Regions from separate parts of the Homo sapiens genome. Here all the other regions are linked to region 2. The links are contacts of gene promoters, found by promoter capture Hi-C in human tissues and cell types (Jung and others, 2019). All regions are on one chromosome and are shown on one strand. Each heading gives the region's core, a stretch centred on a gene start or on the middle of the fragment in contact. The rest is flanking DNA. Distances are from core to core; before and after follow the strand shown. Region 1 overlaps LOC124904855 (a long non-coding RNA gene). Region 2 holds the start of SDCBP2 (syndecan binding protein 2). Region 3 overlaps PSMF1 (proteasome inhibitor subunit 1).

Region 1 (3,742 bases), core at 492-2,991, 150 kb before region 2:
TTTAGCTGGAACCTGGGTATGTCCCAACAAGGTTAGGGGAGAAGGGTCTTCTGAGGGACACCCCTCTAACCCTTCCACATAAAGCCCTACCAAGGCCCAGGGAGAGGAAGGCAAATGGATTCCCAAGTTCCCAGCTGCAGGGCCCAGTGACAAAATCAGCACCTTTGAGGCATGTGATCCTTTGCACAACTGATCCTCACCCCTAGAGAGGGCTCCAGGAGTCTGGGAAGGAACCATGGGCCTCCTGGGTCCTGCATATGGCTCTGCAGCACTGGCAGGTATAAGAAGCTTTTGTTACATTTATTCATCCATTCATTCAACAGTGAGCACCTACTATGTGCCAAACATGTTTCTAACACTGGGAGTACAGCAAGAACCAGTTAGACCAAAATTCCGGCTTTCATGGAGCTTGCAGTCCAGCAGGAGAGGTCGTGGGTGGGAAAGACAAGTACAAGGCTCAGCCTGCTGGGTCATGATTAGTGATCAGAGAAAAATAAGGCAGCGAAGGACAAAAGGGAATGAGGTGGGGTGGGGTACAAATTTAAATATGGTGTTCAGCAAAGGCTTCACTGAGGAGAAGATATTTGAATAAAGCCCCTAAGGAGGTGAGGGAGTGGGCCTTGCAGATACTGAGGGGAAGTACCTTCCAGGCAGAAGAAGCAGCACGTCTGAAGTCCCTTGGATGTGAGCGTGCCCAGTAAGGTTGAGGAATGGTCAAGAGGCACGTGTGGCTGGGGTGAGTGAGCAAGGGGTAAGGGGTGAGAGATGAGGTCAGAGAAGCACAGGGTCCCAATTGCTTAGTGCCTTGTAGGCCACTGTGAGGGATGAACCCTGGTTTGGGGGTACCTGAAGCTTATGCAGTCCAGTGGGGCATCCTCAAGATAGATAAACCAATTCAGGGCCTTGGAAGGGGCTTGTGCTAGTGAGAGGCCCGGACACTTAAGCTTTGCCAGTCTTGCTATAAATCTGCCACTGGTTGTGGTGAGAATTTTGGCTTTTGCCTGGAGAGGGAGCCATAGGAGAGTTTTGAGCAGAGGAGTGGCCTGACCTGACCAGCCTCTGGCCTTCCTCTGGCTGCTGAGTGGAGCATGAACCTGGTGATGGGGCGGGGAGGAGGGGAGGAGAAGGGGGTAAGAGAGAAAGCCAGAACACCAGTGAGCAACCCTGGACTGGCGGTGACAGCCGAGGGTGGACAGCAATCAGATTCTGAAAGTGGAGCTGACAAGATGCGCTGATCTGGAATGTGAGGTGTGATAGAAGAAAGGCAGAAGGGTTGACCACAGCGTTTGAGGCCTAATCCAGCTATCCCCAGTTGAGGTGGGGAAGGAGAGCATCATCATCCCTGGACCTCATACTATGCAGTTCTCCATTTTATCTGTAATCTGCACCACCACCCTGAGGCAGAGCTTTCATTAATCCCACTTCACAGATAGAGAAATCCCGACTCAGAGAGGTGGAGTAACTTGCCCAAGGTCACACAGCCAGTAAGTGGCAGAGCCTGGATTCCAACTTTAGTCTTACCAACTCCAAAATCGGTATCTGTTCTGATGCACCAGGAAAAGCAAGGTTTGGGGCCCTAGGAGCAGGTTAGGTGGGAGAGGCAGTTCCTGGAGGAGAGGCACATTCCAGTAACCACAGAGGCCCCTGGAATGCCTGCAAAGAAAGTTCTCAGCATCCTACTCCGTGTTCCTAATCACCTCCTCCTTAAACCTGTTTCTGATCCATCAGCTGGCAGATCTCAGCTGTAATCATGGGGAAATGCTTTTGTCATCTCTTAAGTTTTCTTAATTCACTGACAAGGTAATAACGCCTCAGTCCATTATACACATTTTCTAAAGGACTTTCAACATTAGAATGCAAAGCAGGCTTCTCTGGCTTAGAAAAACCTGAGACTCCTGGGATTTAATCATCAAACAGATTTAGCCCCTAAATCTGTTTGATGATTAACATCAAACATTTCGTAAGAAAAAAACAAATGGTAGTGCGGCCAGCATGTCCAGGCCACCCAAATATGCCCAATTTCTCCCCTAAATAAACTCATTGCATTTAAACTGATATGAACTGATGGTCCCAGATGCATTCACTCAACAGGTTTAGTATCCAAATGAGTCTGCCACCATCACAGTAATCCATATGACTTGGTTGATATTTTTTTAATTATCATTATGGATTGAAAAGCCTTAGCCCATGATTTGGGATGTCCAATCCTATGTAGTTTACTTAGAACAGCTCATGCCACGTTCTGTGGCTGTGCCTACTTGGAGCCTGGGAGAAAGCGACACAACAGTGGAAGCCTAGGACTTGTGAATCTTTTACCATCTTGGAGCTTTGCTCTTTCCACACCATACCCCTTCAATACCACAACAAAAACCTGGGAAGCCAAGCTAAACAACCCTTGTCCTTTCCAGTCTTCCTCTAGCTCTCTGCTCTTGGTAAAACCTACCAGTAGGAGCAGATATTTGATCTGTCATAGAAGCTGTGATATTACACTCCCCAGATGTTTAACTCACTGGACTGAAGGCTCAAGTTACAGCTAATCAGGGCCTCTCTACACTACAGACCCCATGCCCCCCCACCCTCCCACCCCCAAGGAACAGGATCCTCGGCCCATGTGGCCAACTGAGATGGAGTAAGTAGGACCTACATTGGGCAGGGGATTCACTAAAATGGCTCCTGTAGGGTCTCTACACCAGTGGCTTAGAAGGCATGTGCTCTCAAAGCCCTCTGGGTCCATTCAGACTGAAGGATGCCTCCCCACAGTCCTCAAACACCTGTATCTCCTTGCCCCAGGGCCTACTTCCTTTCCTTACCAAGAGTTTAAAGAAAGTCTGCAGGAACCTAGAAACATTTCATAAGAAAAACACAAATGGCAATGTGGCCAGCGTGTCCAGGCCACCCAAATGTGCCTGATTTCTCCCCCAAATAAACTGTGGCTTCACTTTACTACTATATGAGGGAGACTAAGGTTACAAATTCAGCATAAATTTTTTTTTTTCCTGTTATCCAAATAAGGTCAGGAGCAAGAGACATACTATGGAGGAGAAGGTGATCAAGGCCTGCATCATGCCCACAGAAATACAATAAAGCCCTCACCCTTTCCTGTGTAAAAGATCCTTCTTGCCCAGAGAACTGGGTAATATTGTGCACTTGGCTTTGTAAAAATGTGTCACTGCAGGAAATTAGACCCCAAGACCAAAACCAGGCTGTAGCAAACTTTGAACTGAACCCAACCCCACCAGGGAGCTCTTCCCTGAGACCATGAGAGCTGCTGGCTGTGGTGGTCCCTGAGGTCAGGCCAGAAAATGGCAGGGAGAATGGTTAGTGCCTGGTGGATGCCTTCCTGCCCTGGAGGGGTGACTGGAGATAGAGACTGGGTTCCCATTCCCAGGGAAGAACTAGAGGGACCTGAGGGGTCATCCAGTCCAACCCCCTCACTTGAAGGCAGGGCAACTGAGGCCTGGTGAGGGTAGGATCACAGTTTAGTCAGTGGGGGTACTGGGGGTCACTCTGGTGCTGACTTCTCCCCTCATCATGAAGCCACCTCCCCCACCTTAGATGATCAGGGCTGAAAGGGACCCCTCCACGGCCAATCAACACCCTCACTCAGCCAATAAGGACAGCAGAGGTCCCTCACTCCCCAAGGCATGAGGGAAGAGGATGGGCAACCTTTCAAACAGCTCCCAATCTTGAGAAATGCCAAGAAACCTCATCCTCCAAGAGCAGCGGTTTCCAAACTTTTGTA
Region 2 (4,216 bases), core at 326-2,825:
GTGACTTCCTCAAGCAGACACGCCTGAACCCAGGCCCAGGCAGGGCAGGGTTCAGACTGACTGCTTCTGACTTGTGAGAGCACAGCATAGGCAAATCCCCTTTGAATGTCATTTCTTCCTTTGTAATCTGGATAACAATAGTTGCATCACAGTTGTCTGGAGACTGAAAGATTTTTAAAAAGAGTTAAGGTGTATATGGAAAGCATTTAGCACAGCACCTAGCACATAATAGGCATTCAGTAAAAGTTAGCTGTTTATTCATTGTTTCAGCGCTTACTTACTCAGCACCTGCTAAGTCTGAGTACTGTTCTAGGTATCAGCAGTGAAGGAAAGAAGACTTGGTCCCCAAATGTACTTTCTTTGGGGGAAGAGCTGGATAAATAGGCTTTGTGACTCTGTGTGCTGTGTTAGATGGTGGGAGGCACTGGAGAGAAAGAGCAGGACGGAGGGTCATGTCAGGAGGTTCAGAAGCCTTGCTGGCTGGGTGGGGTGACATTTGAGGAAAGGCCTAATGGGGTGGGCACGGCCATTGCAGAGCCTCTCAGGTGGGAGTTGGTGTTGTGTTTAGAGGACATCTGCCAGTGAGAAGCCAGTTGTGCAGAGAGGGAGTAAGGAGGAGTAGTGGGGAGGAAGCTGGAGAAGTGAGAGGGGCCAGATCCTGGAGGGCCTGGAGGTCATGGTGAGGACTTTGGCATTTACTGTAGTGAGATGGGAGCCACTGGGGGATTTGTAGCAGCAGAGTGCCAAGGTCCAAGGGTTATTTTGACAGGCCTCCTCTGGCTGATGTTTGGAGGATGGGCTACAGGGCAGGAGTGGGAGCAGGAGCCCAGGTGGGAAGTGATGGTGGTGGAATTGTCATGAGCTTGGGCCACTGTACGTGAAGCTGCCTGTCCAGTGCTCGCCCAGCCCATACCAGGCTCGTTTTCTGCCCCATTTTCTGAGACCCTGCTGAGGAGGGCATGCACTGGCTCCTGTGTCCAGTATGTCCTTCCATTCTCCTGACTTTGTGGGCTATTTTCAGTCTCCAGATGAAGAAACCAGTTCTTAGAAAGGTGAAGCCCCTGGCGCAGTTCCCCAGCAGGTGTTTCAGTGCTGTGGCAGGAAGGTTTTTTGATAGAAACAGCCTCAGGCCAGAGAAGTCGGCCTGAGCTGTGGATTCCTTGGGAGAAATGGGCTTTTTGCCTGCCTGCAGCCTCTGGTTTCGGCTGGAATTGGCCTTTCAAGGAGCAAAGTGTGGATCTCATCTCCTTGAGCACAGTCATGGGCAGTCAGAAGGCATCGGGGGCCCTCATGATGTCTGGGTGAAGAAAATCACTCAGCCCTTAATCAAACTTGGTCCAGGGCTGGGATCAGAAGAAGAAACCCCACTTCACACTTGACTGCTTGGAGTGAAGCACTTCGAAAGGAAGCTGCCTGGGAAGTCCCAGAAGGGAAGGGGCAGGGAGGGAAGGGGACAGGGTGAGAGCAGGTCTCACTCATCCCAATCCCAGCCAGGATTGGGTCAGGGCCCCCAGCGCTTACCTGCAGGCAAGGTGCTGCTCCACGACCTTCTCCAGCTGCTGCCGCTGCTGAATCTGTTTCCCTCCCTGAAACGTAGCCCTGTCTCTCAGCTGGCTTCCTGATCTGGGAAGGGTGGTGCCTGTCCCCTGTTCAGCTGACTCACCTTGGACTGGGATGGGCACAGGTGAGGGCTGTGGCTGGGTAAACAAGGCAGGTTGCCAGCCCAGAGGAGGCCTTTGGCCTTAGTCTGGATTTGGAGGTGGGATTAAGGCCCTCACAGCTGCTGTTCAGACGGTTATGAACCAAGACTTCTTGGCCTTTTCTTAAATAGCTCTAAATTTGGGTTGGACACCTAGTCCTGCTGATCGAGGCAGTTGGCTAGAGGGCGGTTTGTGATAGGTATCTAGGGGTCTAGGCCAGGATATTAAAAAGTGGTCATATCCTGTGACCCAGCATTTCTTCTAGGAATTTGTTACAGTGGAGTCACAGGGCCCATCCATCACTGCTGCTTCTAGTAAGGAAAATGTAGAAATCCCAAATGCCCATCTCTGTGGTCTGCTTGAATAAATCATTGTCTGTGGAAGATCACAGAGCTATTAAAGTCACTTAAGGAAGAAGGTATGAGGAAACATTTCTGAGATTCTAGTGAGATGTTGAAAAATCAATATTGTGAATCTCTTCTTGCATTTTGTTTTCATTTTTTGTAAAGTGGATGTGCGTTGAAAGCAGTCTAGGAGGACATACGCTAAAATGCTGAGTATCTCTGAATGGCAGCATTGAGGGTGAGGTTTTCAGTTTGTACTTTTGTGTGTTCCAAGGTGGTTTTTTTTTTTTTAAGTTAGCTTTTGCTCTGAATGCTCATGACTTTTGTAAGGGGGAAGCAATTAAGTTTGATTATTTTAATGGGAATTTAGAGTGGTTGTCTCTTGGGAGCAGACCTAAGGAGCTGTGTGCTGAGGTGGAGATTTTTTTTTTTATGGCACATTTTTGGTGTCTTAAATTTTGAAAAGTTTAAATGTACTACTTATTCCAAAAATAATTATATAAATTTGAACAGAAAAGGAGGAAGAATTTAGTTTAGATCCTGGTGGGTTTGGTTGGGTGAGGGTGCCTGTCGCACTGGGTGCCTGGGGAGGGACGAGGGACTCGTGTGCTGGGCAGTCCCATGAGGATTGACGCTGTACACACTCAGGGTGTGTCAGTATCTGGGCTGCTTCCTGGGCCAGGCAGGCCTACGTCACAGTTCCCATGACCCACCTGGCAGAGTTGCACTAGCCTTGGGTGTCAGATCTTGTGCCTGCCAATGAAGAGCTTACAGCCCAGAGTCCCACACAGGAAACACACAATAGGAATAATAACAAGAAAGACATTTGCCACTAATTCAGCACTTACTCCCAGAGAGCACAGAGATTCTACCCCTGGCACTTTAAAGGCATTATCTCAATGGCTTCTCATGCCATCCCTGCAGAGTAGGTGTGACTCACACCATTCCTCCAGGTGGGGACACTGAGGCACAGAGGCAAAGTTTCTCTCTCAAGTTAGCTGGAAAGTGGGCCAAGTTCATGTCTTCTCTTCTATGGGACATACTGTTTCAGAAAGCTGAGGTGTGGGGCAACCTCAGAGTAAGCTGTGTGGGCCTGAAGCTGAGGTAACGTGGGTGATGGACCCACCTTAGGTCAGGTGTCCAAGGCCAAAGCAAAGTGGAAAATAGAGATCCTAACTAAACCAAGCCACTCCTCCCCCACCTCACTTCATTCAGTCATGACCTGAAAGGGCCTTTATAGAAGAGGGAGGAGGAAGCAGGCCCTTCCAGGTAAGGGGCTTGCCTGTGGTCCCAGCATGTCAGCATGGAGCCCAGGTCCCCTAACTCCCACCTATTTAATACCTACAGGGACTCTCTTTCTATTCCCTCTTTGGATAGTTGCCACCCATCACTGACTTCCAGCCACCTGGAAATATCTTTCATTGGGCATGCCCTTGCTCGAACTCTTCAGTGGCTCCCTCCTGCTTCAGGGTCTGGGCTAAACTCCCAGGGCTGACATGGAGACCTCCACAGCCCACTCCCTTTATTACCTCCTCAGCACTCCCCCAGCACCTCTGCCTCAGCTGGACTGGGAGCCCCACCATTCCTGCCCCACTGCACACCCACTTCCTACCTGCCCTGACTCCATACCTTTGCCTGTCCTGCTGCTGCCCCTGGAACACCTTCTCCTGCCCCCACCCACCTAGCCACATCCACCACTGAGCTCCTCCAGGAAGCCTCTGGGATCCCCCACATCCATGTGGCCTCTCCCGCCTCTGACTCTGGATCAGACGCTCCTGTTCCATTCTTTAATAATCATCATCTTGTACTCATGTGTACCTTTTAGGCTACTAGTTAGACCCTAAGTTCCCTGAGGGCAGGGCCAAGTTATTAGCTCTACAGTGGTCATTCTTTTGAGACAGCATTTCGCTCTGTCACCCAGGCCATAGTGCTGTGGTGCAATCATGGTTCACTGCAGCCTCCACCTCCCAGGCTCAAAGGATTCTTCCACCTCAGCCTCCCTATTAGCTGGGACGACAGGTTCACACTGCCACACCTGGCTAATTTTTTTATTTTCTGTAGAGACAGGGTTTTGCCATGTTGCCCAGACTGGTCTCAAACTCCTGGGCTCAAGCAGTCTGCCTGCCTGAGCCTCCCAAAGTGCTGGGATTACAGGTGTGAGACCCCACACCC
Region 3 (3,982 bases), core at 321-2,820, 200 kb before region 2:
TGGACCAGTCTTTCAGACATAGATCAGATCATAGTTAACAACTCTGGCTTAAAACCCTTCAGTGATGCTGCTTCACACCCATTACGATGGGTAGTATCAGAATAACCAGAAAATAAACAAGCGTTGTCAAGGATGTGGAGAAATTGGAACTCTTGTGCACTCTTGGGAATGTAAAATGGTGCAGCCACTATGGAAAACAATATGACAGTTCTTCAAAAAATTACCGTATAATCCTGCATGTCCACTTCCGGGCATATACCCAAAAGAATTGAAAGTAGGTCTTGAAAAGATATTTGTACACCCATGTTCGTAGAAGCATTATTCACAGTAGCCAAAAGGTGAAAGCAGCTTGGCTGTCCATTGATAAGATGAATGGATGAACAAAATTTGGTATGTAAATACAGTAGAATATTATTCGGCTTTAAAAAGGAAGGAAATTCTGGCCCGTGCTACAACATGGATGAACCTTGAAGACATTATACTAAATTAAATAAGCCATTCACAAAAGGACAAATTCTGTGTGATTCTATTAAAAGTACCTAGATTAGTCAAATTTGTAGAGACAGACAGTGGATGGTGGTTGCCAGATACTGGGGCAAGAGGGGAATAGGAAGGGGAGTTAGTGATTAATGGGTACAGAGTTTGTTTTGCAAAATGAAAAGAGATCTGGAGATGGATGGTAGGTGATTGCACAACAGTGTTAATGTACTTAACAGTACTGAACACTTAAAAATGGTTAAGATGGTAAATTTTATGCATATTTTACCACAGTTAAAAGTCTTTAGGGAATACTCATTGCTGTTAGGATAAAGAGCACAATCCTTGATGAGGCCTTAAAGCATTCACCCCTTCAATCTCACCTTGTACTGCCTTCCCCGCATCCCTGTGCTTCAGCCACAGTGTCATTCTTCTGCCCTCTTCAGACCTCTTCCCTCTGTCTAAAGTGCTCTCCCTGACCTCACGTAGCCAACTCCTGTTTATCTTTTGGTTACCGATTTAAACGTCAGTTCCTTAGAGAAGCTTCCTCTGGCCCCCAGGCTTACAGCTTCAAAACATTTTAGTAAAATGTTTTTTTTGGAGTCAGGTTTCCCTCTGTTGCCCAGGCAGGCTGGAGTACAGTGGCACAATCAGCTCACTTATAAACAGGCCAAGCAGCCTCAACCTACTGGGCTCAAGTGACCCTCCCACCTGAGCCTCCCAAATAATTGGGTCTACAGGCATGTGCCACCATGCCCAGCCAGTTTTTTATTTTTTGTAGAGATGAGGTCTTTGCTGTGTTGCCCTGGATCAAAACATCATTTTTTAAGCATTTAATCCATCAGATATTTTACATTTACCTTCTTAGGGTTGGTCTTCCCTCCTTGCCTGTGATCTCCTTGAGGGCAGGGTTTGGGTGTCTTCTGCATGCAATAGACAAAGGGAGGGAAGGGGAAGTGAGCCAGGCCTGGCCGGCAGAATGCTGCGCCTCTGAGGAAAGGGGGAAGTGAGCCAGGCCTGGCCGGCAGAATGCCGCGCCTCTGGGTGTTGCACACTCCCTGACACCCTGGCCCCTCTTAGTGGGTAAGGGAGGGACATTTGGAGTGTGGTCTCTTGACTTCTTCACTCTGGACTTCCACTGGGAGAGAAATTGACAAAACCTGTGGAAGAACCTAGGAATTATACTGGCCATTCATGCTCATTAGAGCATTCCGTCTGTTCAGCAATACTGAAAGAGAATTGTGATCCTGTCTCTATTTGTTTTTTAAGTACATTTGTTTGAGGGGTTTGTGTGTGAGGGAGGGGATATGTGTTGTGTTTTGTTTTGTTTTTTGATTACTGTGAAATGAGGGACACAATAGTACTACCTCAGGGTTTTTCTGAGAATGGAATGAGATGTCAGCACATAGAGTGCTTAGCGCTTAGTCCAGCTCTTAGTAAAATACACAAAGGGGAAAAAAATGTGATCACCAGGAGTCATCTCCGTGGAAATGGGCGGTGAAAGCTGAGGTATGGCTCTGCCTCCTGATCAGAGGCCCTGTCTCCCTCCTATGCCTTTCAGCCATAGCTTCCTCCATGTAGCCCTCTTTATTAGGTCATTGTGGCATGTCTTGCCTCTTCCAGCAATTTGTGCTCCTCAGTGAGCAAACTGTGATTTGCTAAGAAATATAAACCTATTGTGTTCCATTCTGCTGTACCCTTTCTGTGTCGGATGAGATGGTAGGCTGTCTTTTGCCACAACCAAAATGGCAGTTGTTCTTTCAAGGCTTAGAAATTGTGTGAGAACTTCTCCTTCAGGACCTGGTGGTTTTTTAATCAGGCCTGAATTTTACACATGCCTAGGGAGATCAGAGGCCTCCCTCTGATCTGATTAAAAGGAAAGAAGACTTGAATTTACCCTCCCACCCAGCTTGGGCAGGCAAGCAGCTCATTTTTTACCCATGGATGTCCAATGGCCCCAACATCATTTGTTATTCCTTCATTGAATTACTTTTGAAACTTTGTCAAAAATCAGTTGTCTGTACATCTGTGGATCTATCTCTGGATCCCTTGTTCTTTTCCATTGATCTCTATGTCTCTTCCTCTGTCAATATTACTCTATCAGTATTGATTATTGTAGGCCTTAATATTGAGTAGAATAATTCCTCCCACTTTTTCTTCGTCAAGGTAGTTGTAGCTATTCTAGGTTCTGTGCCTTTTCTTTTTTTTCTTTTTTCTTTCTTTTTTTTTTTCTTTGTTTGAGACAGAGTCTCACTGTGTCTCAAAAAGGCTCAGGCTGGAGTGCAGTGGTGTGATCTTGGCTCACTTCAACCTCTGCCTCCGGGGTTCAAGTGATTCTCCTGCCTCAACCTTCTGAGTAGCTGGGACTACAGATGCGTGCCACCATGCCTGGCTAATTTTTTGTATTTTTAGTAGAGACGGGGTTTTACCATGTTAGCCAGGATGGTCTCGATCTCCTGACCTCGTGACCCACCCATCTTAGCCTCCCAAAGTGCTGGGATTACAGACGTGAGCCACCGCACCTGGCCTCTGTGCCTTTTCATATAAACTTTAGAGTAAGCTTGTGTATATCTATGAAAAACCTTGCTAGGATTTTGATAGGAGTTGCATTAAACCTATAGATTAGTTTGGGGAGAATTGACATTCTTGCTATGAACATGATATATCTTATCTCTCCATTTATTAATATTTAGGTTTTATTTGATTTCCATCAGTATCATTTGTAATTTTCAACATATAGATCCTGTACATAGCTTGTTATTTGTTTAAAGCAGAAAGGGAGATGATTATGAATGGCATATTCTGTCCTTTGTTTTGGTTTTCAAATGTTCATTGTTAGTGTGTAGAAATGTAGTTGATTTTCCTGTGTTGAACTCTTCTATCCTGTCACCTTGCTGAATTCAAGGTGTTTAGGGTTTTTTTGTTTTTTTTTTTTTTTGGTAGATTCCTTGGGAATTTCAGGGTAGACTATCATGTCATTTGCAAATAGGGACAGTTTTATTCCTTACTTGCTAATATGAATGCCTTTTGTTTTTCTTGCCTTATTGCAGTGGTCAGGATGTCCAATATTATGTTAAATAAGAGTGATGAGAAAGAATATGCTTTCCTCGTTCCCAATCTTAGGAGCAAAGCATTCAGTCTTTCACAGTAAAGTATATTGTTAGGGGTAGGTTTTTTGTAAATGTTCTTTATCAGGTTAAAGAAGTTCCCCTTTATTCTTAGTTTGTTGAGAGTTTTTAATCTTGAATGGATTTATCATGTTGGATTTTGTCAAAAGCTTTTTTCTGTATCAATTGATATGATCATATGATTTTTCTTCCATAGCTTATTGATATGGTAGATTACGTTGATTGATTTGTGACTATTAACCAGTCTTGCATGCCTAGAACAAATCATACTTGGTCATGGCATATAGTTCTTTTTATACATTTTTAAATTCAATTTGCTCATATTTTGTTGAGGATTTTTTTTGTGTGTAAGTTCATAGGATATACTAGTCTATATA

The links. The method cuts DNA at HindIII sites, captures the fragments that hold promoters and counts their contacts. A contact is called where the count stands out against the background at its distance.
Region 1: a contact is called between a fragment that was not itself captured here and the fragment with the promoter of SDCBP2 in region 2, in 5 of the 25 tissues and cell types used here (H1 embryonic stem cells, liver, mesenchymal stem cells and 2 more).
Region 3: a contact is called between a fragment that was not itself captured here and the fragment with the promoter of SDCBP2 in region 2, in 1 of the 25 tissues and cell types used here (H1 embryonic stem cells).

Annotation. Positions count from the first base shown.
Region 1 is chr20:1,176,849-1,180,590 of GRCh38, forward strand. LOC124904855 (a long non-coding RNA gene) reads left to right here. Exons shown (of 2, transcript XR_007067486.1): 2 at 1-3,104. It overlaps TMEM74B (transmembrane protein 74B), which reads right to left. Exons shown (of 3, transcript NM_001304748.2): 3 at 3,722-3,742. Among named protein-coding and RNA genes, the nearest start is that of TMEM74B, 6.3 kb to the right of the region's middle. The HindIII fragment of the contact is 5,387 bases long and covers 1-3,742 here.
Region 2 is chr20:1,327,564-1,331,779 of GRCh38, forward strand. SDCBP2 (syndecan binding protein 2) reads right to left here and starts at 1,576. Exons shown (of 9, transcript NM_080489.5): 1 at 1,522-1,576. The region is part of intron 2 of FKBP1A-SDCBP2 (FKBP1A-SDCBP2 readthrough (NMD candidate)); the gene reads right to left. The region is part of intron 1 of SDCBP2-AS1 (SDCBP2 antisense RNA 1); the gene reads left to right. The HindIII fragment of the contact is 26,056 bases long and covers 1-4,216 here.
Region 3 is chr20:1,129,570-1,133,551 of GRCh38, forward strand. The region is part of intron 3 of PSMF1 (proteasome inhibitor subunit 1); the gene reads left to right. Among named protein-coding and RNA genes, the nearest start is that of PSMF1, 13 kb to the left of the region's middle. The HindIII fragment of the contact is 3,650 bases long and covers 1-3,395 here.